Linked DNA regions of Homo sapiens: regions 1, 3 and 4 are each linked to region 2. The links are contacts of gene promoters, found by promoter capture Hi-C in blood cells and fetal thymus (Javierre and others, 2016). All regions are on one chromosome and are shown on one strand. The core of a region is centred on a gene start or on the middle of the fragment in contact, and the rest is flanking DNA. Distances in the headings are between cores, read along the strand shown.

Region 1 (5,714 bases), core at 825-3,324, 4.4 Mb after region 2:
GATTCGCGCAAACTGAAGATTCGAAGGGTTTCCAGAACTTCTGGTCCCTCTCCCTCGCCGCCTTTCCTAGGTTTGGAATGTCTCGAGGGAGGTTAGAGACCTGGGCATGAAGAAACTGTCGGTTTAACCGGGGGCCGGGTTTACGAATGCCCTATATAAGCCAAGAGTTTTATTCCCGAAGTGAAAAGGAGTGTAAGACTGTTTGCTTTTCTTACTTCTCGCCTTCTAATACTCATGTCGTTCACGCTTTAAGCATAGCACTGCAGCATAGCCAGCGGTGCATACTTGAAGGCTGTCTGTGGGCATCTCTGGTATTTTTATGGTCTGGCCAGTCTAAGTTTTTTTCCTATTCCACAAGTCTCTTACAATCTATATCCCTAGCCACTCAGACCCATCGTATTTTTCTTTGTCTTCATGTTGTTGTTAATACACTAAAAAGTTGGCATCCTGAGTTGATAGACCACAGTTTGGCTCCAATCCTGTGGTTTTAAATAAGTGTAGCTCTTTGATTTGGTAGAAGTAGCCTACAGTTGCAAACTACTTAAAAGGAATATTTTCCTCCCCTTCACAGGCTTAGTCTTCGAAGACTGTCCAGAAATTTCATAGTAACAAATTACACTTTGGGAAGGAGAGAGCTTTTTTTTCCCCTTTCCTTCTCTCTTTAAAATAATGTTATAGCACCTTTGATTTGTGTTTGCAGCCAGTTTTGTACTGACTTCTTAGTGTTTGACTTGTAAAAACAGGTATTTAGTTGTAAGCTTTGCTTTTGAAATAATTGTACACTTGTTAAATACTACATAGATTTGCTTTGCTGTGCCTCAAGTGGCTGATACCGTTTCCTTTTGATCACAAGTGAAAAAGCATGTAATCGTTTGATGCATTTTATTTTCTAGCTGGGGACAAATAGTACATGAATTCCTAGGACACTGGTGATTTCAGCACCAGAGATAGAAATGAAGGATGTTCTTGGGCAACACTCCTAAAATCTTTATTATCAAATATGCTAAAATAATTATCACATATGGGATTGGGTTAAATTCAAGGCAACAAAGTAGACTTTCAGTAAACTAGGAAGCTCATTCCAGATTCCAGGGAAAACTGAGGATAACCGTTGTACTTCCTCTTCCAGGGTCCTAGTGGGTAATTCACTACTTGGGTTTCTTCAGCCCAGTGATAAACCAGTAGGGTAGAGGAATAGACCTTTGGTGCCAGCCATTAACTTGGAAACAGAAAAGGAAGGTCATTGGTACCAGCTGTGTGTTCACTTTCTTATGCGCTGACAAGTAGCTATGGCAATGAGTGTTATCTTTCGTGGTCTCTGGAGCTCCACAGATGAGGTAGCCAGCCTGTAGCAGGTAACTACTGGAATGGCATCACAGAGAGTCCCCGTCCTGTAAAATACCATGTCCTCATTGGAAAAAGGTACCCCTACTTCAAAATACTTTACTGCCACGTAGTGAAAAATGTCATAAATTGTAGACAATACATTTATTTTTATTTAAGTGGTACCCGCCCCCCATACTCCATTCGTATGTTAGGCTCCAGCTTTTAATCTTTGGTATGTATCAGAATCGCTTGTGGATATTTATTATAGATGTTCAGCTCACCCCAGAACTGCAAGTAGTTGAATTTAACAAGACCCCACGGGAGATTCTGATAACACCAGAGTTTAGAAAATGAATGTTGATAGATAGTCTCCCACTAGTCTCTTACTATTCAAAGTATGGTCCCTGGATTCTCAGGACCAGCAGCATTAGCTTTACCTGAAATCCTCACGCCAGACCTACTGAAGCTGACCTACTGAAGCAGAATCTGTATTTTAACAAGATCTCCAGGTGATCTGTATGTAGGTGAAGTTGGAGAAGGCAGTGTTAATTGACTCCACTTTTTTTGTTGTTGTTTTTGTTTTTTTTTTAAGCCGGAGTCTTGCCCTGTCGCCAGGCTGGAGTGGCGCGATCTCGGCTTACTACAACCTCTGCCTCCCGGGTTCAAGCGATTCCCCTGCCGCAGTCTCCCAAGTAGCTGGGACTACAGGCGTGCGCCACCACTCCCGGCAAATTTTTTGTATTTTAGTAGAGACGAGGTTTCACCATTTTGGACACGATGGTCTCTATCTAGGACAGGACCTCAGGTGATGCGCCCACCTCGGCTTCCCAAAGTGCTGGGATTACAGGCGTAAGCTACCGTGCCCAGCCTTGACTCCACATTTGAGGGTCAAAATGGAGACCTGCAATTCAGGGCTATAAGTTTTGGTTAGAGTAGGATAACATGCTGTGAACATTCTTATCTGGGAAGTTGAGTTTGAGGCACGCGGGGGATTGGGTCTTTTTAAGGAAGAGATTATGTTGGTGGATCTCTAAATCTTTTTTTTTTTTTTTTTTTTTTTTTGAGACGGAGTCTCGTTCTGTCGCCCAGGCGGGAGTGCTGTGGCGCGATCTCCGCTCACTGCAAGCTCCGCCTTCCGGGTTCACGCCATTCTGCCTCAGCCTCCCGAGTAGCTGGGACTACAGGCGCCCGCCACTGCGCCCGGCTGATTTTTTGTATTTTTAGTAGAGACGGGGTTTCACCGTGGTCTCGATCTCCTGACCTCGTGATCCGCCCGCCTCGGCCTCCCAAAGTGCTGGGATTACAGGCGTGAGCCACCGCGCCCGGCCTAAATCTTTTGAGAATCCAGAGCTTTTCCTATTTTAAAGGATTCTCTCTCGTCATTCTTTCACTCCTTACCACTATAGAGGTGGTCTTAAAATAGATAACAATGTGGGGCATGAACTATAGTTGAAGAAAAAAGTTGCCTCTCCCACTTGGTTTTCACACAGAATATAAAAGTACTTGCCTATTTAAAGGAATATCTATGTATATATTATATATGATGTATATAACATATATAATACACACATATATAATATGTGATGGATACGTGAAAGTTGTTTTGCCCTTCACTGGCATCCCTAGTCAGTAGTTGCTTGGGAATGACTTCCCACTGCCCTCTCAGCCACTTCCACTTGGCATTTGCTTTCTAGTATTCCCTTGCATCATTGTTGCAGTTCCTCTTGTTACCTGGAGTTTCTTCTTTCAACTCAGTAAAATTTCAAGAGTGGTCTGACAAAAAATCCTAACCATTTTTGCTTCTTAAGTATTGTAAATACTGCATCTCCATCTTCGAGTATGGCAGTTCTCAAACATTTGCTTTTGAGACATTGATGGACCTAAGTTACATGCTTCTGACTCACAGATGTTTGTGATTTCTAAATGACCGCTTCCTTTTTTCCCTACTTAGAGCTTAATTTGAGTGTCAGAGATAACTTTCAATCTTCACTTTCATTAAATGTGGAAGAACTTCGGTACTTTTCAAGTAAATCATCTCAACACTTCACAGCTCTTCATAATATGTGAAGCTTTGTGGAATAAAGTTGTGTGGAACTTGTTATTGCGGTAGATAAATGGTCACTATTGTAGGAAGACTGGAGGAGTACCTATGAATTAGCGAAGGAGTGGATAATCTGGGTTTAAAAAGCCTGTCATAGCAAGCATGAGGAAAGGTGGTTATATGTTACTGTGGATGTAACTTATAGGGTCTCATGCCGTGATATGCTTAGACATGGTGCTCTTACGACATTTTTTCCTGTCAAATCAAATTTTAAAAAGCACCAGTTGAAACAGTTTGTATTTACTCCTGACCGTCATTTAGTAGAAACTAACCAGGAGCTGACTGTAGAAATACCCTCAACGTCACTCTGACTCTGGTCCCTCAAACCTAAGTGGAAAAATGTTCTTTCAATTTCCAGCAGTTTTATCACTTTAACTGCTATCTTCATTTTTGGAAATATGCTACTAGTTAATTTGCATGTTTTATACTGTTAGTTTTTTTTAATTATCTTTAAGCACTTTCATTTAAAAATAGTCATAATGTTTGTCAGTTGTATGTTACGCTTTTTCAGCTCCTCCAGAATTAGTAAGGTATTTTGTTTTGGGTTTTTTTGTGGGGGTGTTGGAGAATGTCAAAATGATGGTGTGAATGCAGTGTTTGCTCCTTGAGTTTTTTGGGGTTTTTTTCCCTCCACGGGAGTTCAAGACTAGAGGATGTTCCTTTTTTTTTTTTTTTTTTTAAATCAAGGAAGCAATATTCCCATCCCTATCCTTATCAGGGCTTACTTGCTTACTGACTTGGAATACTACTTTGGCTTATTTAGAGTAAGCATGGTAACTTGTGAGGTAGTACATAATTTAATTCCCTGACTGGGAAACTTGTGAAATTCTTGATCCCTTGTTCTACTTGACAAATGTGAATACCTGTAGTGTTTGAGATTGTGCTTGTTGGGTTCTTGGACCACCTGAGTTCAAATTACTGATCTAGTAGATTAAAAGTTTTAAATTCAGGACATACTTTTATTTCCATTTGGTTGACTTCTCAAATATGATGTTACTGTGTTAGAGTTGTGAATGTTGAAAAGTAATACATATGAAGAGTAGAAAATGAGCAATTTAAAAATTGATTATGTTTCTGGGAAAGTGATAGTTGTGGCCTGAAAGGAGTTTAGTTTTCTTGTTTCACTGTATCATAGTGAAATTGCCAACTGAACTTTATAAAGAAACAAAATGGAGACTTAATTTCCTAGGGCTGTTGTACTAATGTACCAAAACCTGGGTGGCTTAAAACAATAGAAATTTACTGTCTCACAGTTCTAGAGGTCTAGCAAGGTGTCAGCAGGGCCGTCCTCTGATAGCTCTAGGGGGAGAACCCTTTACACTTTGCCGGAAATTTTCTTTCTTGGCTTATATTAGGTACATCACTCCAGTCACATGGCTGCCTTTTTCCTGTGTCTTCACATTGTCTTCCGGCTGCATCTTTCCAAATGTCCCCTTATTATGAGGACACTAGCCATATTGGATTAGGGCCCTAATGACTTTGTTTTAACTTAATTACCTCTCTAAAGACCCTATCTCAAAATGAAGTCACATTCTGAGGTACTGGGGGTTAGGACTTTAACAAAAAAATTTTGGCAGGGACGCAACTTAGCTCGTAACAGTAGGTTTTACATTTCTTTTGTTAAATTTATTTTCTGATTACCTCTTTAAAAGACTGTTTCCAAATAAGGTCACATTCTCAAGTACCATGGATTAGGATTTCAACCCATAACCCTTACCAAAATATGGGTGGGTTGCAAATAATTTATTCACTATTCTTCCTGGAAGACTTCTTGATAAAACTTGATAATTGCAGATCGATAGAATTAGAGAACTTCAGGCAAGTGGAGTAACATGAGCAAGAATTAGAATTATCCCTTCTTGTTTTTTTTTCTGCTTGACTTAAAAAATAAAAACCTACTGATAATGCTTTAGAAAGATAACATATTTGACTTAATGTGTTTTTTAAAAAAGTGAAACACTGAGCTGATGACTTAATGTCTTTATGAAAAATAAGGTCATAAAACAACTTTGAAAATTCACATTTCTTGAAGTTGATTCAAGCACTGATTAAACATAAAACTTGAGAAATTAAATCTAGTTTAGAGTTTTTCTGTGTAGGTCATAAGGTCACAGCCACAATGAAACATTTTGGGATTTATTTATTTATTTGTTTATTTTGAGACAGGGTCTCACTCTGTTGCCCAGACTTGAGTGCAATAGCATGATCATGGCTTACTGTAGCCATGACCTCCTGGGCTAAAGTGATCTCCCACCTCAGCCTCCTGAGTAGCTGGGACCACAGGCAT
Region 2 (5,357 bases), core at 2,393-4,892:
TGGGGGTGGTATTTTGGGGGAATGATTGTGAAAAACATAATTTATTGAACATGCCCATTAGAAAAAAAAGAGAGAGCGGGGTGTGGTGACTCACCCCTGTAATCCTAGCACTTTGGGAGGCAGAGGCGGGTGGATCACTTGAGTTCAGGAGTTCCAGATCAGCCTGGCCAACATGGTGAAACCCTGTCTCTACAAAAAATACAAAAATTAGCTGGATATGGTGGCGGGCACCTGTAATCCCAGCTAATCGAGAAGCTGAGGTTCGAGAATCCCTTGAACCTGGGAGGCGGCGGTTGCAGTGAGCCAAGATCCCGCCACTGCACTCCAGCCTGGGCAATAGAGCGAGACTCTGACTCAAAAAGGAAAAAAAGAAAAAAGGAGAGAGAGGAGTGTTTATTTCTGTAATAAATTTACTTGTTAATTCTAAACTATTCTTTAAATTAAATGTCAGCTGATTCAATTTGTCAAATCTTGGTTTCCATTACTGAAGATGAAATACTCACTGCCTAAACGGTCTTACCTGCTCGTGTTTGAAGCTAGGCAACATTTCAGGCAGCATTAACAGTTTGTCTGTTGGGACTAGAAGCTTCCTAACGTTGTGCATGGAATTTTTCTTTATGAGGGTGTTGTATCCAGATACCAAGTTTTAAACCCAGTATCTACTCTATACAGAATGTAACCAAAGCAGACTTACATAACAAGTGAATGTGGCCATACAGACATGAAAAAGTGACTTCTATCTTTTGATACCAAACTAGAAAGAGAAAAGCAAGTTCAGAGAACACATTATGACTCATCAAAGTCCAAAAAGAAAAGCTGCGTGTGAACGTAGCACCCTGTGCAGCCTCCTGGAGTCCTTTTACCCTCCAACCACATTTGCTTTTGTATGATTTTCTGCAAAACAAAACAAAAAAAACCCATCATTTTCCTCCTTAACTTCAATTGTTAAATTTCGTTTTACCTCAGAGGTGAAACTCATGCTATATGTTCTACAATCTTCTTTTTGTACCAAGTGAATGACGCTGCCTTTTCATTTCTCCTGTGTTGAGGCCTTATTTTATAAAATTCGTAACTGCTAGGGTACAAACTACAAACAAGACGAATTTTTAGAGGAACAACTTGAAGGGTGATGGGGGAAGGTGGTGCTTTCTTAGACCAATGCGAAGGGAGAGGGAGATGCAATATCTATATTTAATCTCTGTTCCCAACGATGTATTTTAATTCCCATAGCTGTGTGTATACAATGCGTGGATACCAACGCCTCCAAGGACAACATCAAAATTTTATATGAGCTGAAGAATATACACATATAACAAAGGGAATGTTTTCTTCTTTACTTTCCCTGTGACAAAATGCCAGAAGGAATGGACAGTTTCTTTCTCCAGGGACTTACTAATTGATTTGTTTTTGTTTTTGTTTTTTTGAGGATTTGCATGGCAAGTGGAAGTAGAATCTTAAGGGGATAAAGGGCATTTATTCACAAGGGAATAAAAGTGAAGTTATCAATTTCTGAAAATTGGCATGTGAGGCCGGCATGCCAGAGAAACAAATTAGACCCCAAAAAAATTAAAACCTAATACTCTCAATGTAATAAGCATTGCTATTAGGTTAAATCTCTTTATTAGAGACAGGTAGGTTATCTGGCTATATTATTAGTTGCGACTTATTAGGCAGTTAGAAGTTAGTATTTATGTTACACTTTTACTATACTACTAGTCTTGTTTAAAATTTCTCCCTATATATTTCTCAGTTAATAGTTATACCGGCATATCCTCAGGCAGAAAAACAAGTTCTTACAATGGATCCTTCAGGGCACACTATATTCTATTTCTCTTAGCTGTGTTATCTTTCGTTGTCTTGAGGTTCACTTCAAGATAGACAGAAAATGATGAAGCTAAAGTTAACAAGCAAGTAGCAAGACCTTAGAAAGCTATAGGGTGGGTGATCACCAACACTCCCAGCCATCATGAAAATGCTGCCCTAGTGGGCTCTGCTTCAGCCAGCAGTGGACCAGTGATATAAAGAATTCTTGCTTCTTAATGACTACATGGCAGTATTTGGCGTTCTTTCCATTACTTCTTGTCTTCAACTTATCCAGCCTGAAGTTTTAAGCATCCTAGAACTGCATTTCAGACCCAGTTGCTCAAATGGAGTCAATTTTGCAACAGTAAAATGGTCTTAAAATAGGATTTTACTCTAGGGGGAAGAATCCTCAACCAGATAGTCACAGTGCACTTTGAATGACTAATTTAAGCCATTACATTACGAAATAAGGGATAAATCATACTTTTCATAACACTACTGCATAGGAACAGTTTTAAGAGTCAAGCATCTACATTAATCTGAGTCTAAAATAATAGGCCCCTGATTTAAAGTCTCCTAACATTCTTTCACACTTCATAAAACTAAAAATAAAATTGTCTCACCAAACACCGACCTATTGGTCCGGCCAAAGTACTGTATTTCAAGGAAAATTGGAGCAAAGAGGTCTCAAAACCGCGACTTGCCAGCAAATTACAATTTGCAGCCTTAATTGGTCTCAAATGCGGGGTGAGAGGGAAGAGACTACGGTCTGTAGAAAATAAGAGATTTATTCCCCTTTTTAAATCAAAACCAGATTCCATGCTTCAGCCGCCCCCTAACCCGCCAGCCCCGCCCCCAGGGTTTGTTTTTCCATATTTTTGTATATATTTTAGCGAAGATGGCAGGTGAGGGAAGGTTATAGTGCTGTACCTAGTCCACGAAGTAAACAGAGAGGTTAGGGTGGGTTTACTTATTTATAAGGCGTTCAGCCTCTCAGCTGTTTCTCCCTCGTTGGCATTTGGAAGCTTGCAGTCCTTCAGGGAAGAGACAGATTTGGCAGGAACGTTCTTTGTGCCCGCCTCCCTTTTCTATTTTTTATTTTTTTACCTGGAATAGGGGGCAGATTTATAATGACAGCCTTAGGGAAGGGGGAGAAAAAGTTTCAGCCGGCACGACAATGCCCGTTTTTTCCACAGTCCACACTGTGCCACAAACAGCTTTGGTGCCACTCGGAGCCCGTCCCCCGTCCCCTCCCTCTCTCTCTGCAGGCTCGCACTGGCAGGCGGAGGCACAGTTAAATTCCAGCACCTTCTCCACATACCCCCGAACTACTACGCGCTATTACTACGGCTGCCCTCCGTTTTCGCTTCGCCTCCTCCCCTTCCGCAGTCTCCCTGGAGGAGCCCCGCGGCGCCCGAGGAAGAGGACTGCCAGGGAAGGGACAGCGGGCGCCCAGCTCCAGCAGGGCTTGGGGCTTTCTGCATCCCGCGCAGTTTCTCTGCTCCAGGCACAAACGCGGCCCGAGAGCCGGCGCCTTGCAGTCACACACGGATCCACGCATACAGTAGAGCTGTCTAGATCCACATTCTTGCACACCGCCCCCTCCTCCCCCCGCGCTCCCGGAGTCGCTGAGCTGAGCGAGTGACAGGCGCGTCCCGCCAACCCGCGCCCGGACGGGCAGGGAGGAGCGGCGCGCGGGGCCAACTGCGGCGCGTCTTCCGGCGCCCGCGGAGGAGGCGAGGGTGGGACGCTGGGCGGAGCCCGAGTTTAGGAAGAGGAGGGGACGGCTGTCATCAATGAAGTCATATTCATAATCTAGTCCTCTCTCCCTCTGTTTCTGTACTCTGGGTGACTCAGAGAGGGAAGAGATTCAGCCAGCACACTCCTCGCGAGCAAGGTAAATATAACTTACAACTCTTTTCTCCTCTTTCCCCTCCCTTCGGCCGCCCCGCTGCAGCCGCCGCTCAGACCCCTCCGGCACCACGCCGCCTTCGCCCGGGATTATCCATTATTATCCTAATTATTATTTATTGTGCATGCAAGGAGACCAAAACAAACAGGCGGGCCAACCGCCGCGACAAAAAAAAGCCCGCCTCCTCCCCGCGGGCCTCAGGTGGAATGCTCTAACGACAGCTCCCAGGCGGCGGTGGAAGAAACGAGAAAGTTTCAACCGAACCTTGCTGTTCTAATAATAACAGTAATAATTACTACTTCAAGGGGGCAAAGGAGGAAAAAAATCCCAACAAGCCACAGCCTTGATCCTGAGTGGGCAGTCAGAGGCGCTGCCAACTCAAGGTTGCAACACACACATTGGGCCAGGTTGCAATCCCCCCATCCCCTTAAAAGTGAGGCGGCGGGGAGGGGGGTGGCCGCAGGAGGGGGAAGGCCTGGGGGACAGGGGAGGAGGATGGAAACGCTACTGTTCATCCCGGGCAACCCTCCCCGGAAGAGTTGGAAGGGGAACGGGAAAGGAGGGCGGGGAGCCCAGGCTGGCGGCGGGGCGCCAACGGACGCTGTTGCCACCCGCTTCCCAGGGACTTGTTCAAAGGGCTCCGGCTGCGGAGACGTGAGCGGATCGCAGCGGGAGAAGCCTGAGCTGACGCGCGAAGGAGGTAGCGGCCACTGCCGCGGGGCCGGTGCGTGCCTGATCGGAGGTGTCACCTCCACTTTCCGCGTTTCCTCCGGCGTGGATGGGGAGGCTGATTGGTAGGCAGGCCTTTAGGCAAAGGGGCTGCCAGGGGGCTGCGCCCCGGGCGCTGCGGACGTCCCTGCCTCTGGTACCTGGCGGCAGCGCAGGCTCGGGTGTTAAAGTTCGGGATGTCCGGCCCGGGCCGCACTGCTGGAGGGAAGGGAGGAGGCCCCCAAGGAGGTCGGAGGTGCCCGCCAGCCTCCGTTACCCTGCCCTCCCTCTCCCCGGGTCCGTGTTCTTTTGCTTCGCGTCTTCCCCTTGCTTGCGCCGCGGGAGCTGCGGGCGTGGGGCGCCTGCGATCGTCCGGGTGCTAGGGGCGCGCCGGGACCCAGGAGAGCCACGGCGGCGGCTGCGGGCCCGGGAGGCCATGATCCGGATAATCCTGTCTGCCTGACTGTCACAAACAGGACCCGCGCACCACCGGGCAGCGGCGGTGTGGTTCGCCCGGGAAGGGGAAGGGCTGCGGTGGGGAGGGAATAGGGGGGTGGCGAGGGCGGGAGGCGGGGAGACCGGGTAGGAGCCTCCTCCCAACGATGACACGCACTCCTTCCTTCTCGCTCCCTGCTCAGGAGTTTGCTTTATTCCCATCCCAACCTGGTTTACCCCTTCCTTTGCTCTCCCCCTCCACCCGGCCGTCTTCCCTTCCTCCCGTTTGCGTTGCAAAACACGGCCATGCCATCTGCAAAGGTGTCGCGATGCACTTCCCTAAATAACCGGTCCGGCGCGCCAGCCCCTCGGCGCCCTCCGGCCGCAGGGCGCACACGGAGCACAGTGCTCCCGGTGCCCCGCACCAGGCCTCGCAGCCTGGGTGCAGTTACACGGCGGAGGGCGGGGCGCGGCAGTGCGGGCTCCGGCGGACACCCGC
Region 3 (6,197 bases), core at 3,421-5,920, 4.0 Mb after region 2:
ATTGCTGCTTTAAGCATCACAAAAAGCAAACAAAAAGATATTTCAAAAGGTAAAATAATAACAGAACATACTTAAGTCCTAATATTTTCTTCTCTCACCCCAGTGGGTCATCCTGTCTACTTCCTGAGATGCTGAGACTACTCTGGAAACCACAGTGAAGCATACAGAAGTATTTGTAGTTTCCAGAAATACTATGCTGTTTCATGCCTTGCACTCACTGTAGTTCAGCATTCGGAATGCCCCAGTTAAACCTTCCTAAAAAGTTCAGTAGTAATATTCAACTCCTTCAAGAATCAATTCAAATATAAACACCTCTATGATAGACTAGTCTCTTTCTCTTCCTTACCTCGTCTCACTTGTCATCCCCACATTCACCCCTTCCGCTTCAGATTTATGTCATCTTCCTTTAAATTCCTCTTGTACTTTGTTCATATATCCATTACAGAATTATTCTATTTTTAAGTAACTGTTTCCCTACTCAACTACAAACCACTTAAGGGCAGGGAACTTATCTTTTGATCTCAGGGACATGAATGCCTAATTCTAGAAGATACTTAAATACTTGCACAATTATTCTACCCTAACACCCTCATTATACAGATAAGGAAACTGAGATTCAAGTTATATGCTGTGTCCAGGGTACTAATGCTATTGGGCTGCTCTCTAATGAGAATGTGGTATCCTCTTTACCTAATATACCTCATTTATTGCTCACTAGAAAGCTCAGCAGTATAGGGAACGGCTTTAAAGTCTCTTTACACTTTGAAAATAAGTTCCTTTAGTGTCTTACAAATATATTCCAGAAGTCAACGGAAAATTCAAATAATATCTAAGTGATTCATTGGTTTCATTTCTAAAATACCATATACCACTTTGAGATATTTACAAATAAGCTATGAGTCATCTATATGCTGAAAATCACACTCCCATGAACACTCTATAGAATATTGTTTTGAAACATCTATATACCTTAGTTGCATTTCAAACAGTTGTGACCTATGCTTTTCTCAAAGTTGTGCCCATTGGAAGCAGTTAGTAATGACTCAGATTTTAGGCTAGAAGAACTGATGTCCTAGTATCCACAAGTGTGGTCTCGCAAACCTGATGTGTTTGCATACATCAAATACAAAAAAGCGAGGGACTCCAACTTTAATTAACTATTTGAGGTCATACTACTTTTTGCTACTAAAATAGCAAGAATTTTACCTCTACTGGCCTAAGAATGTCAGAAATACATTATTTTTATAAACTACAATGTTGTAAGTTTAATTTCTAAATATGGATACTATTAGATCACATGGGAATATAAGTATTCTGAGCATTAACGACTGAGAATGATGATTCTAAGCATTTAGAAATTTACCTTTATGTAGTTTCTTAGTCTGCTCTTTTTTAAGACTAAGAAATGTTTATTATAGGCCGGGCGCGGTGGCTAGGGCCTGTAATCCCAGCACTTTGGGAGGCCGAGGCGGGCGGATCACCTGAGGTCAGGAGCTTGAGACCAGCCTGGCCAACATGGCGAAACCCCATCTCTACCAAAAATACGAAGATTAGCCGGGCGCGGTGACAACTAACCCCAGCTACTCGGGACGCTGAGGCACGAGTATCGCTTGAACCCGGGAGGCGGAGGTTGCAGTGAGCTGAGATCACGCCACTGGACTCCAGCCTGGGCTACAGAGGGAGACTCAGAGAAAATAAAATAAATAAATAAATGTTTATTACACACAGAGCTTTTGAAAACACCAGTAATTCAAACCCATATGCTATCTCTTAGCACTTTCATTCAGTCATTCTCTTGCCTCATTCTAAATCATTATTCCCACATCTGATAGATTAGATGAACTCTAAGGTTCTTCCAGGTCTAAAATCTTGTGACATCAATCAGGAGGATACTTCATAACTTCAAAATAATAACGTGAATGGATTGTTTTTTATGTGAGTCACAGCAATAATGCACTGTGGAGACAAGGGTAACAAACACACTACAGAAATACAAAATTACTAAAGTATTAAAAGTAATTTACAAAGCAAATATGTGAATAATTATTCTATTACTAAATAATCCTACTCTATGAAAGGATTCAAGAAGAGGTTCCTTAAAGAGAGCTCACTTAACGAAGACAGGCACTATGTTAACTGTTTTTGGTGAAAAAAATCACCGTTAGTCTTGAAAATGGCATATGGGAAGCCAATGACAAAGGTTACTTTTAAATTACAGTGACAAATCAAGAACCAAAAAATTAACACAATTTCTAGGAGCTATTCTGTAAGAGCACAAGTATAATGCCGTTTCAGATATGAAGTATACACTCATATTATTCAACGACTGCTACTACTTACATTAAAATGGCTAACACTTATACTTGGCTAACTATGGGAGCAGCACTGTTGATTTCACATTTATTAACTCATTAAATCCTCAAAGCAACTCTATGAGAGAAGTACTATTATTATCCCCGCTTGATAGATGAGGAAACTGAGGCCAAAAAGGTTAAGTGACTTGCTCAACTTAAATTCACTCTAATAGTAAACAGTCAAACTACTATTCCACTTCAACTACCAATACCAAAAACATTGAATTTTTCCACTCCCGAAAAATTTAAACTTTAGAAATTAACTTGGCTGACACAGACTATACAATTATTATAAAACAATACATTCATTTTAGTATCCTCCTCTTGTGTTAAATAATTGGATATATGGGTGGCGGATACCAAGAGCACAGTATCATCTGACTTGCCTATGATTTCTGGTAGAATAAACATAAATGTATAAACTTTAAAAAATGTGTGTTGATGCATTCCCTATTATTGCAAAAATTGGGTGTCCTCAGATGAAACGGAGAGAAAAGATCAGTAGTATGCAAAAGTAACCATTAACCATTTAGTAACACTCCATAAATCTTCGATGACCGACATGGGTAGTAAATGATAAAATTATTTTTTAATGGTTTAAGACACCTTTTTACATAAGCCAAAATTATTTTTCTAGAGATATTTCATCCTAAACGCTGTTTTAAATGTCATGCTAAAACTGTCTAAAAGTTGCAGGTCCAACTTCCATCCCACAAAAACTGTTCCTCTGCCTACACGTGCAATTCTTCCTACGGGACCCATTCCATTTTACATCTGCAAACTATACCCAGCTCTTCAGCGCTGCAGACTCGGGTTTCCTTCTCAGTCTACGCGCAAGCCGGGTTCGGCCCACACCCACCACACCCCTCCGGTCCCCGCCCAGCGCCGCTCCTCCTCCCGGGCTTCTCCAGCACCGACTCAGCACCTATCAGCGCCGCCCCCAGGCCCCTGGCCCAGCCCATCCTCGGGCACGTGTGAGTGTGTGTTTGTGTCAGTCTGTCAGTCCCACCGGGGACCGGGCTCGCTTACCGAGAGAGAAGCGCTAACTTCTGCTCCAGCATCATCTCCAGCTTCTGGCCCTGTTTGGAGATCCAGTGGTCCACTCCGTGCAGGCGGTAGCACGTCTCCAGCATCAACCTGAAGTCCGCCACGAACTCGGTGATGCCCCCGTACTGGCCGCTGGCGAACTTCTCTTCCATCTGCAGCAGACACATGCCCTGTCCGGGCTGCTGCGGGAAGGCGCGACCGCCCCGGCCCCCGCTGCGCGGCCCTTCCGCCACCTCCTCCTCCGCGGTGGCAACGCCCCCCAAGGGCTGCAGAAAGGGGGCGGTGAGGCCCCGGTGCTTCTCCTGCAGGAACTCGCCCAGGATGCGGTAGCCCTGCTGTAGCTCGTAGGTCAGCTCCTGCTCCTTGCAGCAACCGCCTCCGATCACCATCGCCTCCATCTCTTCCTCCTGATCGTCCGCGTCCTCCAGCGAGGAGGCACTCCTTCCGTGGGCCGGCCCTGAGGTCTGGGCCGCCGCTGCCACCTCCTCCTCGTCGTCCTCTCCTTCGGCCGCCGGTGGCGGCCGCTCTTCCTCCCCAGCCGGCTCCATCGCTCCCGGCGTCCCGGGCACACTCATGCCCCGGCAGGCCTAGGCTGGGCGGTGTGGAACAGCCGCTCGAGGTGCTGGGGGACGCGTGAGCGCGAGCCGCTTCCTCACGGCTCGGCCGCGGCGCGTAGCCCCCGCCACATCGGGCCTGGCTCTCCTCAGCCGCCGGCTCGGCTCGGTGCGCGCGGGGGTCTTGAGCTCACCGCCGGCGGGGCGGGGTTACATGGCGCGCGAGGAGGGGGGAGAGAAGAGGAGAGCCTAGGTGCCCTCCTCTCCCCTCCCCCCCGGCGGCGGCGCGCGCACGGCCCTCGCCGGCCTCACCCCTCCGCACCCCGCCCGCCTGCTCTTCACCGGCCAGGCCCTGCCGGGTCGCCGCGGCCTCGGCGCCCCACCCCCTCCCGGGCCAGCGGGGGGCTGGGAGGGGGCGAGGAGGAAGGGGGTTCTCCTCTCCCCTCCCCGGAGGGGGCCGCAGCGGCGGCTCCGGCTCCTCCTCTCCCTCACACCCCCTCCCGCCCCCCTCTACCTGCGGGGGACACGGGCAGAAGGAGGCGGTGCACGGACGGGGCCCGGCGACAACTGTCAGTTAGAAGCCCCGCTGGGCGGTGAGGGGGGAGAAAGGGGAGGGGCAGGGAGAGAAGGGGGAGGGCACTCAGCCCCCCGGCTGGGAAGAGCTGTGGAGAGAAGCAAAGAAAGAGGCCCTGTCGCCATCCCCGGTGCGCATGCGTAGTAGAACAATTCCCCCCTCCCCCCCCGCCACCATCGTGCCCCGCCCCGCTACGCAAAAGGAAGAGCTTCGGCTCAGCTACAGGCCCAGAAGCCTGCTAGGGTTGCGCGGACCAATGATGTAATCAATCGTAGGCCAATCGAACATGTTGATGGAGGGGGAAGCAAGGCGCCTGCGCAGCTTAATTCGCTACCGCCTGGGAAGGTGGCCAAAAGGCTTTTTTTAAAGCAAGTGCTTCAAGAGGAAACTTCTTTTGCAAGACCCGTGTTAGCCCCCCAAACTAAAATTAAAGTTGCTAGATAACCTTTGTTAATGGCAAATGAATAGTGAGAAAGCGCAAAATGTAAATCTTCTCTACTATAAAATTTACATTCTGTTCCCACCCTTTCTCCCTTGTGACTGCGGGTCTTCTATATATAACCAGAATTTTGAGAAGTTTAGAAAGAAAGTTTAAGGACTCGACCATACGTTCACATGCAGAAGAAAAGGAAGTGATTTTTAGAACCCCAGCTCTTAACATCAATTCATATTTTGGAACTAATTCCATGTTTTCAGTTACAAATTTCCACCCTCCCGATTCTTGAGATCTGTTAAGAATAAAGAGAATGGAACCTCATTTAAACAAATTCTTGGGACTGAAAACAGTCAAAATAGTTCATGTCTGAGTTGTACAGCATTAAACAGTTGTTTGCATGGGCTGATAATCTCACTACATTTTACAATTACTGTTTAATGACTAAAAAGTGGACTCATCATTCACATTGGTTTACATGTTACTTAAAATTAGTTGGGAGGTAGGAATTCATGGTTCCATAAAGCAAATACTACTATTTCCTCATGTTCTATTTGAAAGACGCACATATTATTTTTTCTAGGTACACAGAACCCTCGTTAAAACCTAGAATTACCTAAACACAAAAACAAAATTACAGAAATCATGCATTTTAAAAGTAAAATGTGTATAACTAAATGATTAGGATACTCTGACTCTTGCAATTGTTTACTTCTCATTAATGTGAACTTTAAAGCAGTGATAAAATTTTTTTTTAACCTCAAAGCTGTTTTTGTCCAGTAAGTTAAGTATCACTCTTAAGTAAAATAGTGAAGCGGGAACGCTCTGTTAGGGTATTCACACTGTCCTCCACACATACCTTTTATCTAGTATTCGAGGTCTCCTCTCATCAGACATTTGTAATATATAACGCATTTACAGGGTTCTCTCCCCTCAGAGAAGAGTCTGTGGACTCTGAAGAGTCCACAGAACCTCAGCTCACAGAAAGAAAAATGCAGGGATCAGTCTTACTTCAGCACCTGGCAACCAAAACGTGTGTCTGACTAGACATTCCTCCTTTCTTTCGACAAAGCCCAGGAATCTGAAGCCCAACGTACCCAAGCAAACATCCTCTACTCCTCTTTAGTCATCAGCTCTATTTCATGACTCTTGGACAATATTAGCTTACATTATTGAACCCTGTGCCACTAAGCACTTTATATTCATTGTCTCCTTTAATCTCACAACAAGCCTAT
Region 4 (5,788 bases), core at 2,933-5,432, 3.6 Mb after region 2:
CCACAAATCATCATAACAGATATACTAATAATGAAAAAGTTTCAAATATTGAAAGAATTACCAAAATGTGATAAGAGCCATGAAGTGAGCATATGCTATTAGAAAAAATGGTGCCAATAGACTCACTCAACACAGGGTTACCACAAACCTTATATTAAAAAAAAAAATTGCACCAAATCATACTTCCATCAAGAGAGTATAAATGTATCCCCATTTCTTATGTGTACTCTTACCAACATTATTTCTAGTAATTTAAAAAGTTTATAAGTTTCATAGATGAAAACATGCACCTAGTAACTTTTTTTTTTTTTTTTGAGACAGGATTTCATTCCTTTCACTCAGGTGGGAGTGCAATAGCATGATCTTGGCTCACTATTACCTCTGCCTCCCAGGCTCAAGCAATTCTCCTGCCTTAGCCGCCTAAGGGGCTGGGACCACAGGTGTATGCCACAGTGCCGACTGATTTTTTGTAGAGACAGGGTTTCACCATGTTGCCCAGGCTGGTCTCAAACTCCCGGGCTCAAGTGATCCGCCCACCTCTGCCTCCGAAAGTGCTGGGATTACAGGCGTGATTACCCTGCCCGGCCCCCTACTAACTTTTATCATAAGCTTAATCTTAGAACAGAGTCCAAAAATTTTGACAGGAGTGGTGGTGGAAACTAGTAGAAAAAGGAGGAGAAGACCTAAGGCATGAGAACTGTCAGTATATTTTACAAAATAAAGTTAAAATATGATATTTGAAAGTTGAAGCCAGGCACGGCGGTTCACACCTGTTATCCCAGCACTTTGGGAGGCCGAGGCTGGTGGATCATTTGAGGCTAGGAGTTGGAGACTAGCCTGGCACATGATGAAACCCCATCTCTACTAAAAATACAAAAACTAGACAGGCGTGGTGGTGCATGCCTGTAGTCCCAGCTACTCAGGAGGCTGAGGCACAAGAATCACTTGAACCCGGGAGGCGGAGGTTGCAGTGAGCCAAGATTGCACCACTGCACTCCAGCCTGGGTGACAAAGCAATGCTCTGTCTCAAAAAAAAAAAAAAAAAGAAAGAAAGAAAAAGAAATGATGTTGAAAAATCCAGCCAATAACATTTTTGTCACAATAGGGGAACTCTCAAGTATAGGGTTTTGGAGAGTCAGATATTTCCTTTTCTCCCCGCCAGGGAGAAAGACCTAGAGGTTTCCCCCACTCCCTCTCACTGTCCAGAGCAATTACCACAATTTAGTTCAGCCTAAAGAGCATATGCTGTTGGAAAAACAGCAACAATAGACTTACTTGATGCAGGGATGCCATAAGCCTTAATTTTTTTTTTTTTTTTTGAGACAAAGTCTCACTCTGTTACCCAGCCTGGAGTGCAGTGGAGCGATCTCGGCTCACCGCAACCTCTGCCTCCCAGGTTCAAGCAATTCTCCTGCCTTATCCTCCAGAGTAGCTGGGATGACAGGTGCATATCACCATGCCTGGCTAATTTTTGTATTTTTTTTTTTTTAGCAGAAAGACAGGGTTTCACCATATTGGCCAGGCTGGTCTCAAACTCCCGACCTCATGATCCGCCTGCCTTGGCTTCCCAAAGTTTTGGGATTACAGGCATGAGCCACCGCGCCCAGCCAAACCTTAAATTTTTAAAAAAATCACACAGGAGGCTGGGTGCGGTGGCTCACGCCTGTAATCCCAGCACTTTGGGAGGCCGAGGTGAGCGGATCACCTGAGGTCGGGAGTTCCAGATCAGCCTGACCAACATGGAGAAACCTCGTCTCTACTAAAAATACAAAATTAGCCAGGCATGTTGGTGCATGCCTGTAATCCCAACTACTCCAGAGGCTGAGGCAGGAGAATTGCTTGAACCCAGGAGGTGGAGGCTGCAGTGAGCTGAGATGGCACCATTGCACGCCAGCCTGGGCAACAAGAGCGAAACTCCACCTCAAAAAAAAAAAAAAAGAAAGAAATCACACTGGATCTGTAGAAAGAACATCAGTTCTTTTCAGGCCATGTGAATTCAGGCACATCTACCACACCTGTCCTGTTTCCTCACTTGAGAAAGTGAGAATAACAACATCACACCAATGTCACTCACCTTGAATGTTTACTATGAATTAAATCAAGACAAGCATTTGGAATTATTTTGTGAATCTTAAGTGCTACACAGGAGTGTGGCAGAGGAATAAGCTTCTAAAGTCAGCAAGTAAGGTTAAAATTGAGTGCAATAAAAATTGCTTAGAAGTTCCTTAAATTGCCCATGAGCACAGTATGACAAACTTGAGACACATGAGAACAAAGACTCTCTGAGAGACAGCTGGGACAAACATTCAGTAACACTGCCAGCAAAATTGCTGCACTAGAACATTTTCATTTCCTCTTTCTGCCAAGTGCATAACTGAATCTAAGATGAAAGTATGATGCAACTTTGTTATTCTACAATTTGAAATTGGCAAGTTAAGAAACCTCTCTGGGCCTCTTTGTCTAATGGTGTAGCTCAGCTGGATCAGGGTTTCCTCCACGGTTTGTCTGACAAATACTGCCAGCTTACTATGCTTACTATGTTCCAGGCTGCTGTGTTGGACTGGGGGAGGGTAGACGCCAAGGAGACAATCTGATCGCAACAGGCTGGTGAGTGGTGAGGCAGTTTCAACCTCCATTTGAGGAATACAGGATTCTATCATCACCTTCCAGGGAATGCAGTGAATGTTTAGAAAAATTACAGAAAGTTACATATTTGGTTATGAATACCAGCTACAATGCTATATCTAATATGAATTAAGTTTCTTTGTTTCCTTTTTTCTGTTTATGTTGCTACTTTTTTTTTTTTTTTTGAGACAGTCTCACTCTGTTGCCCAGGCTGGAGTGCAGTGGAGGGATCTTGGTTTGCTGCAACTTCCGCCTCCCAGGTTCAAGCGATTCTCCTGCCTTAGCCTCCTGAGGAACTGGGATTACAGGCACCTGCCACCACGCCCAGCTAATTTTTGTATTTTCAGTAAGACGGGGGTTTCACGATGTTGGCCAGGCTGGTCTCGAACTGCTTACCTAAAGTGATCTGCCCGCCTCGGCCTCCCAAAATGCTGGGATTACAGGCGTGAGCCCCAGCACCCCGCCTACGTTGCTACTTTTTAATGTGGGGTCATTTTTTAAACCTGGCTTTTTAATTGAAAAAGTAATACAAACATATGGAAAAATTCAAACTGTACTAAAAAAGGTAGACAATGAGAAGCAAATCTTTCTTCTATTTCAGACTCCTCCTTCCCCCATTCCACACCATATCCCCTCAACCCTCCTTCTATTCAGACGTTACCACTGGGTCAATCCGTTGAAAGTTACAGCTAAGGTGATACCTGGGGTCCAAAAGCTAAATATGGACCTACGCTATCACCAGTCCCTTCCAGTTCTAAAACTAAGTCCAAGCCTTTTGCAGCACGAAAGAGATAGCCTCCTCTCATCTAAAGTTATGGCTGGTAAGGCTGAGACGAATGGAAATGGATTTCAAAGACATAGATTTAGAACTCCTGAAAGGCAGGAGACAGAACTCAATACTTTCATGGTGAGTGGTTTATTTACTGATTAAATAAACGCTCCCTTAGGGATGTAAGCTCCACACCGGCAGGAGCTTCATCACCAGCTCTCACTGCAGACCCCGGCATTAAAGGAGCTCACACGGTAAAAGCCCCTACCGCCCACCACAGCCACAGCGGCCGGCAGCCCAAAGTGGGAAACCGCGCCGGCCGTCACGTGACTCCAGCTCCCCCCGGCAACCGGCCCGCCCCCACCGAGACCCCGCCAATCCGGAAGGGAGGTCCAATTTGGCCAGGCCAGGGCGTGTTCCACCGGCCCAGTAGCCTTGCTGCTGCGTTATCCCTAGACTCGCCCCACTTGCCTCGGAGTCTCAGGCCGTTGCCTAGGTCCTCCCGGTAAAACCCTGGAGACTGCTAGGGAGAGGAGCAAGGGAGGGGCCAGCGCGCAGAAGTGCGGACGCAACCCGGCGGCCGCGGGCGAGGCTTATGCAGAGCTTCAAGAAACAGCTAGGGAGACCGCAGGAGTCTCCAGAGCGCGCGCGCGGGCCCTCCCCGGCCCGACCCACGCGGCGCGGCGTGGTGACGCCCGCGCGGCCTGAGGAAGGGGCGGGGTCGGGGCGGGCCTCCGCGCTCCTCCCGCCCTCTCTGTGTCCCTACTCTCCCTCCCCTTCCCTCCCCCACACTCGGCCCCGTCAGCTTGGGGGTGCCTTCGTCGCGCAGCCTTGCGTCGGCCCGGCCCGGCCAGGCCAGCGGGCAGATGCCCCGAGCTGCCGCCGCCGCCGCCGCCGACTCGGCCGGTGGCGGTGTGGGAGGTGGGCGACCAGCCCGGGGCCGCTGAGTGTGACGGACGCAACTGGGGGCGCCGGGGGCTCCGCACGGACCATGTATTTTCTGAGCGGCTGGCCCAAGAGGCTGCTGTGCCCTCTGGGGAGCCCGGCCGAGGCGCCTTTCCACGTTCAGTCCGACCCGCAGAGGGCTTTCTTCGCCGTGCTGGCCGCGGCCCGCCTCAGCATCTGGTACAGCCGAGTAAGTAGAGCCGCCCGCCGCCTTTCGCCGCTGCCTCCCCGGCCTCCCGGCGCCGTCCCACCCCCAACTTCCACCCAGAGCCTAGGACTCCTGCCCCTTCGTGCCAGACCCACCTGCCTTCGCAGTCCGCGTCCTCGTTCCACCGAATTGGCCGCAGGTACCCGCCGGCTGCAGGCACGTCCTCCAGCCGGCGGTCCGGGGTGGATGAAGTCGCTGCTGCCGAAAATCCCTGAGCCTCCCCGCGTTGGACCGACGGCCGCGGCGTGCAGACTCCGCACGCTCCCCGGCCGAGCCCAGACTTGTTCTTCTCTCCCTTCCCCCATTCCCCGAGGGACAAATTTGTTTAAACTTTCCACAATTAGAAATCCGGCCGCTGTGGTGCCCCAACCCTCCCTTACTTTAAAGGTCGCCGTTTTGGAGTTAGGGAAAGCCTCTTGGGCTTTACCCAGCGCCAGACTTTACAGGCCTGTAATAACTTATTTCTACAAACTACAGCCTGAATTCTTTATTCTTCACTAAAGGTCTGGTTATTTAACTCCCCTCTTTAACCCCAACATCCCTTCCCCACTTTCGAGTTGGTCTTTTTCTTTGCTGCTGCTCTTGGACTCTTCGGAATAGGGGGTTAAAGGAGCGGAAGTAGAACTCAAATCTGTCCGCGGAACTCCCAGTTATAACACCTGGAAATAATAAGGCTTGGGAGGAGCATGGAACTGAATTCTGTTTTTGCTTTAAGTCCTGGTTATCTTTTTCTTTCTTGTATTGAATTACTGAGTAGATATGAGAAAGAAATAAGTGGTGGATGGGATACTCCCTACTCTCTGCAAACACTGCTATAACTTTGTCTATGAGAACGACAGAGTTCAGAGTATAAAAATGCTTTTTTTCCTCCCCAAAGAAGGCAGTACCAATCGATGTCAGAGTGAAGTTTTTCTCCTTTCCAAGTTAATTTGACCATGTGGGGATAGGTTGTGATCTTGTCCTTATTAGGTGTTCGTGAAATACTGGTTTTAGTTTGTTAAAATCCCCAAATCTTTGTGTGTTGCTGTTCCATTACCTGTAATGCCCTTGACAGTCCTCACCCACTTCCCTGGTAATACTGGTGATGGGATTTAGTGACGGGTAATTCTGGTGTCTCCTTTGACTGTCATAGTTGGGCTGTAAATCAGACTATTTGCCATCAAGTTTTGGCTGATCTAATTTTCAAATGCAAATCAGAACAAAACAAACTTATAAAATCGTAATACCAACAATATGACTAT

What was found. The method cuts DNA at HindIII sites, captures the fragments that hold promoters and counts their contacts. A CHiCAGO score of 5 or more calls a contact.
Region 1: a fragment that was not itself captured here is called in contact with the fragment with the promoter of SMARCA2 in region 2 in 1 of 17 cell types (non-activated CD4 T cells); the score reaches 6.7 in non-activated CD4 T cells.
Region 3: the fragment with the promoter of BRD10 here is called in contact with the fragment with the promoter of SMARCA2 in region 2 in 1 of 17 cell types (neutrophils); the score reaches 8.4 in neutrophils.
Region 4: the fragment with the promoter of RIC1 here is called in contact with the fragment with the promoter of SMARCA2 in region 2 in 1 of 17 cell types (fetal thymus); the score reaches 5.0 in fetal thymus.

Annotation. Positions count from the first base shown.
Region 1 is chr9:6,414,173-6,419,886 of GRCh38, forward strand. All of the region lies in intron 1 of UHRF2 (ubiquitin like with PHD and ring finger domains 2), which reads left to right. Among named protein-coding and RNA genes, the nearest start is that of UHRF2, 3.8 kb to the left of the region's middle. The HindIII fragment of the contact is 2,637 bases long and covers 757-3,393 here.
Region 2 is chr9:2,011,705-2,017,061 of GRCh38, forward strand. It overlaps SMARCA2 (SWI/SNF related BAF chromatin remodeling complex subunit ATPase 2), which reads left to right and starts at 3,643. Exons shown (of 34, transcript NM_003070.5): 1 at 3,643-3,700. RefSeq lists enhancers at 803-932, 3,143-3,192, 3,253-3,302, 4,089-4,645 and silencers at 3,353-3,692, 4,833-5,002, 5,303-5,357. The HindIII fragment of the contact is 4,329 bases long and covers 2,827-5,357 here.
Region 3 is chr9:6,003,812-6,010,008 of GRCh38, forward strand. BRD10 (bromodomain containing 10) reads right to left here and starts at 4,671. Exons shown (of 8, transcript NM_001017969.3): 1 at 3,384-4,671. The coding sequence starts at 3,976. It overlaps MIR4665 (microRNA 4665), which reads left to right and starts at 4,015; the gene lies at 4,015-4,093. RefSeq lists silencers at 3,139-3,198, 3,589-3,748, 3,939-4,168, 4,219-4,738 and enhancers at 3,339-3,568, 3,700-4,201, 4,202-4,701. The HindIII fragment of the contact is 10,771 bases long and covers 1-6,197 here.
Region 4 is chr9:5,624,925-5,630,712 of GRCh38, forward strand. RIC1 (RIC1 partner of RAB6A GEF complex) reads left to right here and starts at 4,183. Exons shown (of 26, transcript NM_020829.4): 1 at 4,183-4,529. The coding sequence starts at 4,386. INCR1 (interferon stimulated noncoding RNA 1) reads right to left here and starts at 4,803. Exons shown (of 3, transcript XR_007061406.1): 1 at 4,643-4,803. RefSeq lists enhancers at 2,373-2,592, 4,503-5,003 and a silencer at 3,943-4,482. The HindIII fragment of the contact is 4,913 bases long and covers 2,165-5,788 here.